Linked DNA regions of Homo sapiens: region 2 is linked to region 1. The links are contacts of gene promoters, found by promoter capture Hi-C in blood cells and fetal thymus (Javierre and others, 2016). All regions are on one chromosome and are shown on one strand. The core of a region is centred on a gene start or on the middle of the fragment in contact, and the rest is flanking DNA. Distances in the headings are between cores, read along the strand shown.

Region 1 (4,144 bases), core at 1,051-3,550:
CCATCCCAAATAAGGCATATGGCCTCTCTACTGTCTTCAGGCTCTCTTGTACCTTCCCTTTCCTCTCCCAACATCTCTAAGAGATAAAGTCCATAAGGAACCAACTCACCTCGTATCCATGAGATTGTATCCCAAAGATGGTCAGCACCACCAGAAATGCCACCTGAAAAACAGACCCACCACATCCATTCTTTATAGGGTAGTCATTGAGTGTGGGACAGGAGGAAACACTGGACAGGAAAGGCACAGATATCTCAGAAAATGTACACCTAGAGACACTGAGTGGCCACAGATGGTCAGCACTCCCTTTCCACGCACACATTGATTGGCTCACACATTGGCTCATTTAACAGGCATTTGTTGAGTTCATTCTATTTGCCAGACACAGGGTGCTACAATTGCCACCTAATTCCCAACTCTTTCTAGCATTATAACCATGTAGATAGTAGGAGAAACCCGGGGCAGATGAGCAGTGAAGGATTCATTTCACTATGGAAATACTCTGGTATGATTCACACTAGCTTTGGATAACAGTGGTCAAATTGTGTCCTCTAAAAAAATAATTAATTAATTAATTAATTTTAAAAAACTTTAATCCCTTAAGACTGAGAGGGTAATACAGATTTAAAATGAATCATGGGTGATAAAGACCTGACAGGTTCCTAAGGGAAACTATGAAAATAGAATGCTTGGGAGCACAATTAACTTTTGAGGCTGACATCAAGTAAAACCCCCATATTCTCCTATGCCTTAGTGATACTATCACACAAGTGCTGGGCCCACAGGTCGTGAGCTGACATTGAAGCAGTTCTGATATTTTGCTGTAGTTCTGTAAGAGTCTGTTCCAACATGCTAACCCAGGTTTTGTACCCTCTCTTCTGAACATCAGTGAACTGTACTATCGCTGAAAACTACATCAGTACATAGTTGACTGCACTGTCATTTGAAAACTGCTGATGAAAGGAGTCTTGGGGAAGGGGGATATTTTTAAGAACTGTCAGTGGGACTTTCCTACTTCCCTTTCCATCCCACCCTTAATATTTCTCTTCTGGGGACTGGGAGTAGAGCATCTAACAAAGACCTGTGTGCTGATATTCAGCCTTCCATAGGGATACATCTTCTCTTACCACAGACCAGCTCCAGCAACATATGATACTCCCGTATATTCTAGTTAATGAGTCTAAAATAGTGGTTTGAACAAGTAGTCGAAGGACTAAACCACTTTAATGGTATGATTAGAGAGAGCTTGGGGAGTGTCCTCTGCCCCAAAATGATCTCCCTTCCAACACTGTGGTTAATACACCATGGTTATATAATACTTTTGTGCTTCAGGGTTAGGTCTCAATTTGGAAAATCAAGACAGCCCTGAGAGAGGGAGCTCTTTAAGCTGATAGTCTTTAACACTTTAGAAAGAGGTACTTAACATTTTGCTTTCTCCCTTAGCAGCTGAATGAGAATAAAGGACAGAGACTAGGGGAGCGAATTCCATTCTAGGTCAGAACATAGCCCACTGTCCATGGGGCACTGCAATGTGGAACTACGGAGGCTGGGATCAGATGGAGGGGTGGAGTGGCCATAGAAGGAACGTTTTGTCCTAAGGGAGAATTTAGTCATAATGAGAGGACATTGAAGACACTCTGGCTGCTTAAATTTGCCATGATTGCGCCTGCAAGTGGGGATTCAGATGGATAAATTACATTCTAAATCCCACATTTACGGGCTTGGGAAAATCACATTCCTCTGCCTCTCAGTCTCCTTATCTGTAAAACGGGGAGAATACTACTCAACTCATAGGGTTGTTGCAATGAATAGATGAAATTATTCATGTGATATGCTTAGTCTAAGGCTTAGTATGCATTTGAGAAATGAGAGGTACTATTATTACTATTACTGATATTATTTTTAAACTACAGCTTCTCTCTTAGATAGCAAATGTAGTTGTTTTAAATAGCCCAAATTCCCTATGAAGCTCATAATAAAGGATTATTATTAAACATCCTCCAAATCAAAATTATCTAGAGATTTCTTTGTATTTTTGAATTTTCTTTTAAGTAAACATCTCAAAACAGGAAAAGGACAAAAAAAGTCAGACTTATTCAACACTATTTCTGCCAAAGATGTCATTAATTCAATCACAGAAGCTTAGAAGCATGCACAGTATCTGTCTAAGACTCCCAAAATCCATGGCATATTAGATATGAGCATTGTCTGCAAGCAGTCACCACAAGAGTATCAAGAAGCAGAAACAAATACTCACAAGTATTTTCATTTTGCCTGGGAGAGGAAGGTGCTGGAGTAAGTAAAGCTGCCCTGTGCAGCTTCTATCCTTTATATGGGCTTGAAGATGTGGATATCTCTTTTTCAAATGATCACTTTGGAAAAGACCATGTCTATATCTCTGACACACCCTAGCAAACTCCTTTATCAGAATTGAGATCCAACCACATACCTGATATCAATGAAGTTCATTAGTCAGTAATGAAAATTCACCACTTGGTCACTCTGTAAATATTCCCTGCTATTTGTACTATGCTGCACTTGACATTTTAATTTCCACCCTTTAAAAATATTGCATGATGCTTGTTCTATGCATACATTTTATAGCTCTACAAGGACAAACTTCTAACATCTCCTCCTAAAGGAAGAGTGCTTCCTTAAGGCCTGAGTTGGGCCCCAACTCAATGTCTTTTCACCACTGTTCTGCTGGCTGAATTCTTCCACAGAGGGAACGGATATGAGACGGGGTGCCAAGACAGTGGCTGGGGAGGCCTGCTTGGAGAACAAACAGCCTAGGACTTTCTTCGTTCTTCCCTTTAGATTTGGTGTCAATTTCCAGAAATTAATGAGGAACAAGACTCAGAAAGCATTCTCCCCAATTACCAAGTTTAACCAAATTTTTACATTAAGCTTCGCCCAAAACTGCACAAAACTGTAAGTTAGAGACCTCTAGTTATCTTGCAGAGTATTAAGAAATTCTTAGATTGAAAAAAAAAAAAAAGAGAGAGAAAGAGAATAAAGTTTAATTTGTGTAATTTTTTTAACATGACAATTAGAAATGGCTAGTTAGTGTCAGGGTATAATCATGAACTCAGGAAGGGAAATTTAAAAACAAAACAAACAACAACAACAACAAAAACAATAAACTGCGGCTGGGCGCAGTGGCTCATGCCTGTAACCCCGGCAATTTGGGAGGCCAAGGCGGGCAGATCACCTGAGGTCAGAAGTTTGAGACCAGCCTGGACAACATGGTGAAACCCCGTCTCTACTATGGTGAAACCCCGTCTCTACTAAAAGTACAAAAAAATTAGCCAGGCGTGATGGTGCTCGCCTGTAGTCCCAGCTACTCAGGAGGCTGAGGCAGGAGAATTGCTTGAACCCGGGAGGCAGAGGTTGCAGTGAGCCAAGATCATGCCACTGCACTCCAGCCTGGGTGATAGAGCAAGATTCCATCTCAAAACAAAACAAAACAAAAAACCCCAGTAAATTGCAAAATTGTAAAATATTGAGAATCACCACAGTAAACAAAGAGATAACATAAATAATGGCCTTGTTCTATAGCTGAAACAACTTTCTAACTTTAGCAGCTTTAAACAAAAATGGGGTTCTCAAAAAGTAGACATCTGGGCAAGTTAAGGGTTACCTAGTTCACTGGAATCTCCCTACCCTGGCTGTTCAGTGGGGGTGGATGTAAAACACGCAGCTTTATTAAATCTTTCTCAGATAGTAGCTGCAGAAAGGATTACAGTTTTCTAAGGCACCTGCAAATTTTCTCTCATATCTGGCTTCAGAGACTCAAAAAAGCAAACCAGCAATGCCCATAGACATTAGGGCTAATGAAAGTATCACATGCTATCCTCTACCATGTCCCCCTCCCGTCCTCAGGAGTTCTGGTTCTATAGTCTAATAATGATTGTTGCTAGTGTTTGTAGAGCACTCAATATGTTTCAACACTTTCCAAACACTTCGGATATATTGATTCATCTGATTCTCATATCAACTCTAGAAGTTACCTTCTAACCTGTTCCATTTTACAGGTAGGAAAACCAAGGTGCAGGGAAGTTAAGTAACTCTTTGAGATCACACAGCTTCGAAAGGCAGTGTTTGGGATCTGAGCCCAATTTAACTCCAGAGTCCACACTCTTAA
Region 2 (4,144 bases), core at 780-3,279, 830 kb before region 1:
TGATCCACCTGCCTTGGCCTCCCAAAGTGATGGGATTACAGGTGTGAGCCACCTCGCCTGGCATATACTGCTTTCTTTAGCTTCCATAGCCTCAACCGAGAGCAAGAGAATAAGGCTTCTGACATTCTTCCTAGGAAGCTTTACGGAACAGATTGGAAAATTCACAACAAGCCCTAAGTGGCCCATAGTGGATTAGTGGGGACTGTGGCCGTCAGGACTCCCCCTTAGCTGAGGCTTCTGTGTCTTCTGTGTCTGCTTTCTTAGGGCCCTTTAGCCTGTGAGCTCTTAGGAATGCAGGAAGACCCTCTCTTTCCCCCTGGGTGGTAACAAAATTTCCCCTGGTCCATCATTCCTGAGCCCTAGTTCAGTCTGTGTGCGGCCAGGTCAGCGCTCAATAGGGTTCCAAACCTGTTGGCTGCAAGCACAGACTCCCTCTGAGTGTGAATGTTATCTCTCACCAGATGAGGGATGTGCTCAGCCCAGATCAAACACTTGTTTATCTACAGGGTGGTGAGAGCCAAAACTCTGCTTCTGTTTCTCCCTGGTGGTTTATTTGCTTACCCTTATCACCTCTGAGCAGTGGTGTTGTTTGCATAGAGTTCTCGGTTTCTGGCATGTTAAATTTAGAGGTACCCCAGGCTTCTCGGAGGGATCAGAGTGTTGAGCAACTCCTCAGGGAGGTGCAGGAGAATATCACTGGATGAGGGGTCAGGAGATGAGGGCCTGGGTCTGTCTTCAAATGCAGAAATTGAGTGCAGAGGTCTCAAAGGCCTCTTCTGGCACTGACGTTCTGACTGGCCATGAAAGCCTTGGGTGTCATAAAGAAGAAAAGTTGAAGACTTAAAAGGAGGAAGTGTGAGTGTCTTCAGCCTCCGGTGTGAGGGAGAACTGTGAGTCTCTTTTGACCACAGTTTATTTTGTGTTGCTTCTTTTAGCTGCATGGTCCATACGCCAAAGGTGGGCAGGTGGAGGGCTGCTACTCACTAACTTGGTAGTGCAGAAATGGCTTTTAAAAACAGTGGCTATATGGCTGCGCACGGTGGTTCATGCCTGTAATCCCAGCACTTTGGGAGGCCGAGGCAGGCGGATCACTCGAGGTCAGGAGTTCGAGACCAGCCTGATCAACATGGAGAAACCCCGTCTCTACTAAAAATACAAAAATTAGCCGGGCGTGGTGGTGGGCGCCTGTAATCTCAGCTACTTGGGAGGCTGAGTCAGGAGAATCGCTTGAACCCAGGAGGCGGAGGTTGCAGTGAGCTGAGATCGTGCCATTGCACTCCAGCCTGGGCAACAAGAGCAAAACTCTGTCTCAAACAAAACAAAACAAAACAAAACATTGGATCTGGTGCAAAGAAGATGGAGAGAAATTCTAGAATTCCTGCAGGAAGTTAAGTGATGGTATAAAGAAGTCCTTACTCTGAGAAATGCTTCGTTAAAATCAGAATTTACAGAATAAACGGTTGGTAGGAGATAGAGGCATGTACTATTTACTTTACAAAATAATTCCTCACTTTATAAAAAGCCAAATATTTTCTCTTGGAAGTTAGCCTTGTGATGCTACCAGTAAGACTGAATCTATAATAAAGCTAATGATCCAACTTTTGGTTAAAAAACCCATTCTGTAAAAAGAAGCATAGGCATGCTATGCAGTGTTGTTATATACAAAGTGGGTTTTCTTCATAAACACAATCACATTTTTGGAAGACATTTCTGTAAGATAATGTCTTTCTCAAGGTCCAGTTTGGCTTGCGTGCCTCCTGGGAATTAAACAGGATAGATTTTTCCAGCTGCATTTGAAAGACAAATTCCGTTTCCTTGTGTTGAAAGGTCTGCAATGCCCACATCTCCCACAAGGGGGCAGCGCACCACTGGGTCTTCAGGTACAAGGACGGCCTGGGATTCGGAACGTGCGGCTGAGGGGCCTCCTTCCCAGGGGAAGAAAATCCACTGAAAGTCGTGAAGAGGCGGACCTTATGTACCACGACATAATTGAATTTCATATCTCACGAACCCTGCGTATTTGCCAGAAACTTTCGGGCTGTTCTCATTCAGAAAAGGATGAAATCATTTTGTGTGTTGGATAGTCCTTAGACATTCCCAGAAAAAAAATTATTTTTCATGTATATATGCAAAGTGTATCCAGCTAAATCACAAGCAAAAGTGACTTTAAGCAGGTACCAAGACACGCCGGATCATAAAGACACTGTTCTCCCTTCAAGTTCCTTTGGTGAGTTTATGGACACGCATGAGGTAAGCTGCGCCGTTCATGTTCTACTGCGCGTGACTTTGTACTGCCCCTGAGTGGAAAAGGTATTTGGGATTCGAAAGAAGTTATTATTAAGTACAAACAAATTCCCAAGAAAAGAAATGTAGTATGAAGATCAATTTGAGTGTGTAGGGGGAGTTTTCCTTTCCTGTTTTTGTACTGGGCTGGGCTTGCATTGGTGCACATAAAGGATAATAAAAGTAACTTAAAAAACCAAGGGATTCCATGGTGTCTGGTTTACAAGAGCTGATGGAGAAGATACAATTGCCAAAAGGGAGTATTGGGTGCCAAGACCCAGATCTGGCCTAAGGAAGCACGCATTGGTAGCGCCCTAGTTTTCACCTCATGGGAGGACGCAGCCAGGGAGGCCGTGCTTGACGGCTCTGTCAGGGCGGCAGAATCCAGTTACACCTCCCAACATCCATTTCCCTACTTCCTCAGGACCAGAACTCCCAAATGGTAGCCGGGTATAACACTGCACACAATCAGGTTTATGCTTCTCGGTCTCACTGTGATAGGTGAGACCGAGACACAGGACCAAATCATCACCAATGGATACAAGCAAAAGTGCTCTTCAAAGTGCAAGATGTTCTTTTTCTTACTTTTCCTACTTTTCTGATGTCTGGAATGTGGATGTGATGGTTCAACTGGAACAGGCACACTGGATAATGCGTAATCTTTATTTTGGGTTTTCAGTTACCCGCAGCTGAACCTAACCCTAATCAACAACAATGCCTTCAAAAAACAGGCCAGAGGTTAAGATGGACTTTTTTTTCCTAATTACTTGTTTTATCATTATTTTATCATTTTAATCACCCACCAACATTTGCTTTTATTTATTTATTTATTTTTGAGACAGGGTCTCTCATTTTCCCCAGGCTGGAGTGCAGTAACACAGTCACCACTCACTGCAGCTTCAACCTCCTTGGCTCAAGTGATCCTCCTGCCTCAGCCTCCCAAGCAGCTGGGACTATAAGCTGTGCTACCACACCCAGCTAATTTAAAAAAAAAATTTTCTGTAGAGACAGTGTCTCACTATGTTGCCCAGGCTGGTCTTGAACTCCTGGCCTCCCAAAGTGCTAGGATTACAAGCGTAAGCCACTGCGCCTGGCCCAACATTTATTAAATGTTGTATTAAGGGGCCAGGGGCAGTGGCTCATGCCTATAATCCCAGCACTTTGGGAGGCCGAGGCAGGCAGATCACTTGAGGTGAGGAGTTTGAGACCAGCCTGGCCAACATGGCGAAACCCCATCCCTACTAAAAATAAAAAAAATTAACTGCGCGTGGTGGCACATGCCTGTAATCCCAGCTACTTGGGAGGCTGAGGTGGGAGAAGTGCTTGAACCCAGGAGGCGGAGGTTACAGTGAGCCAAGATCACGCCACTGCACTCTTCCTGGGTGACAGAGCAAGACTCAGTCTCAATTAAAATAAAAAAGTGTTGTATAAAGGGTATTGCTGAGTGATCTGGTTTTAAGTTGGCTTAGGGATAGAGTTGGATCAGAACACCATAAGCAAAGTTCAGTTGTTAAAGAATCCTTCATAAAATTCCTCCACCATGACTGTATAAATGCAGCTGTACTTGGTCACAGCCCTTTTACCTAGAATCTCATGCTTCAAGTTAAAAACACAAAGTCAAAATCCTGTTCCTTCATTCAAGCTTGATGTTTGATGTAAAATATACAAAACCTATGGACAACTGCATTAATGGCCATGCACTGTGAGGATAATCTGCATCTGCTTTCACTGTGCTGTCCTGATTAATAACCATTTTTCTGGTTCTGGGGTTGAGGACAAGGGTTTAGCCTCTAGATCCCTACACAGTAACAAAGATTCACAGTTTTCATACTGCCATTTGTCCATCCTAGACCCAGTAGGG

The links. The method cuts DNA at HindIII sites, captures the fragments that hold promoters and counts their contacts. A CHiCAGO score of 5 or more calls a contact.
Region 2: a contact is called between a fragment that was not itself captured here and the fragment with the promoter of GKN2 in region 1, in 1 of 17 cell types (activated CD4 T cells). The highest score is 5.6, in activated CD4 T cells.

Annotation. Positions count from the first base shown.
Region 1 is chr2:68,950,593-68,954,736 of GRCh38, forward strand. GKN2 (gastrokine 2) reads right to left here and starts at 2,301. Exons shown (of 6, transcript NM_182536.3): 1 at 2,258-2,301; 2 at 110-163. The coding sequence starts at 2,269. The HindIII fragment of the contact is 766 bases long and covers 2,140-2,905 here.
Region 2 is chr2:68,120,715-68,124,858 of GRCh38, forward strand. It overlaps the pseudogene PPIAP64. Among named protein-coding and RNA genes, the nearest start is that of DNAAF10, 35 kb to the right of the region's middle. RefSeq lists enhancers at 225-384, 615-784, 795-874, 1,723-2,017. The HindIII fragment of the contact is 3,787 bases long and covers 137-3,923 here.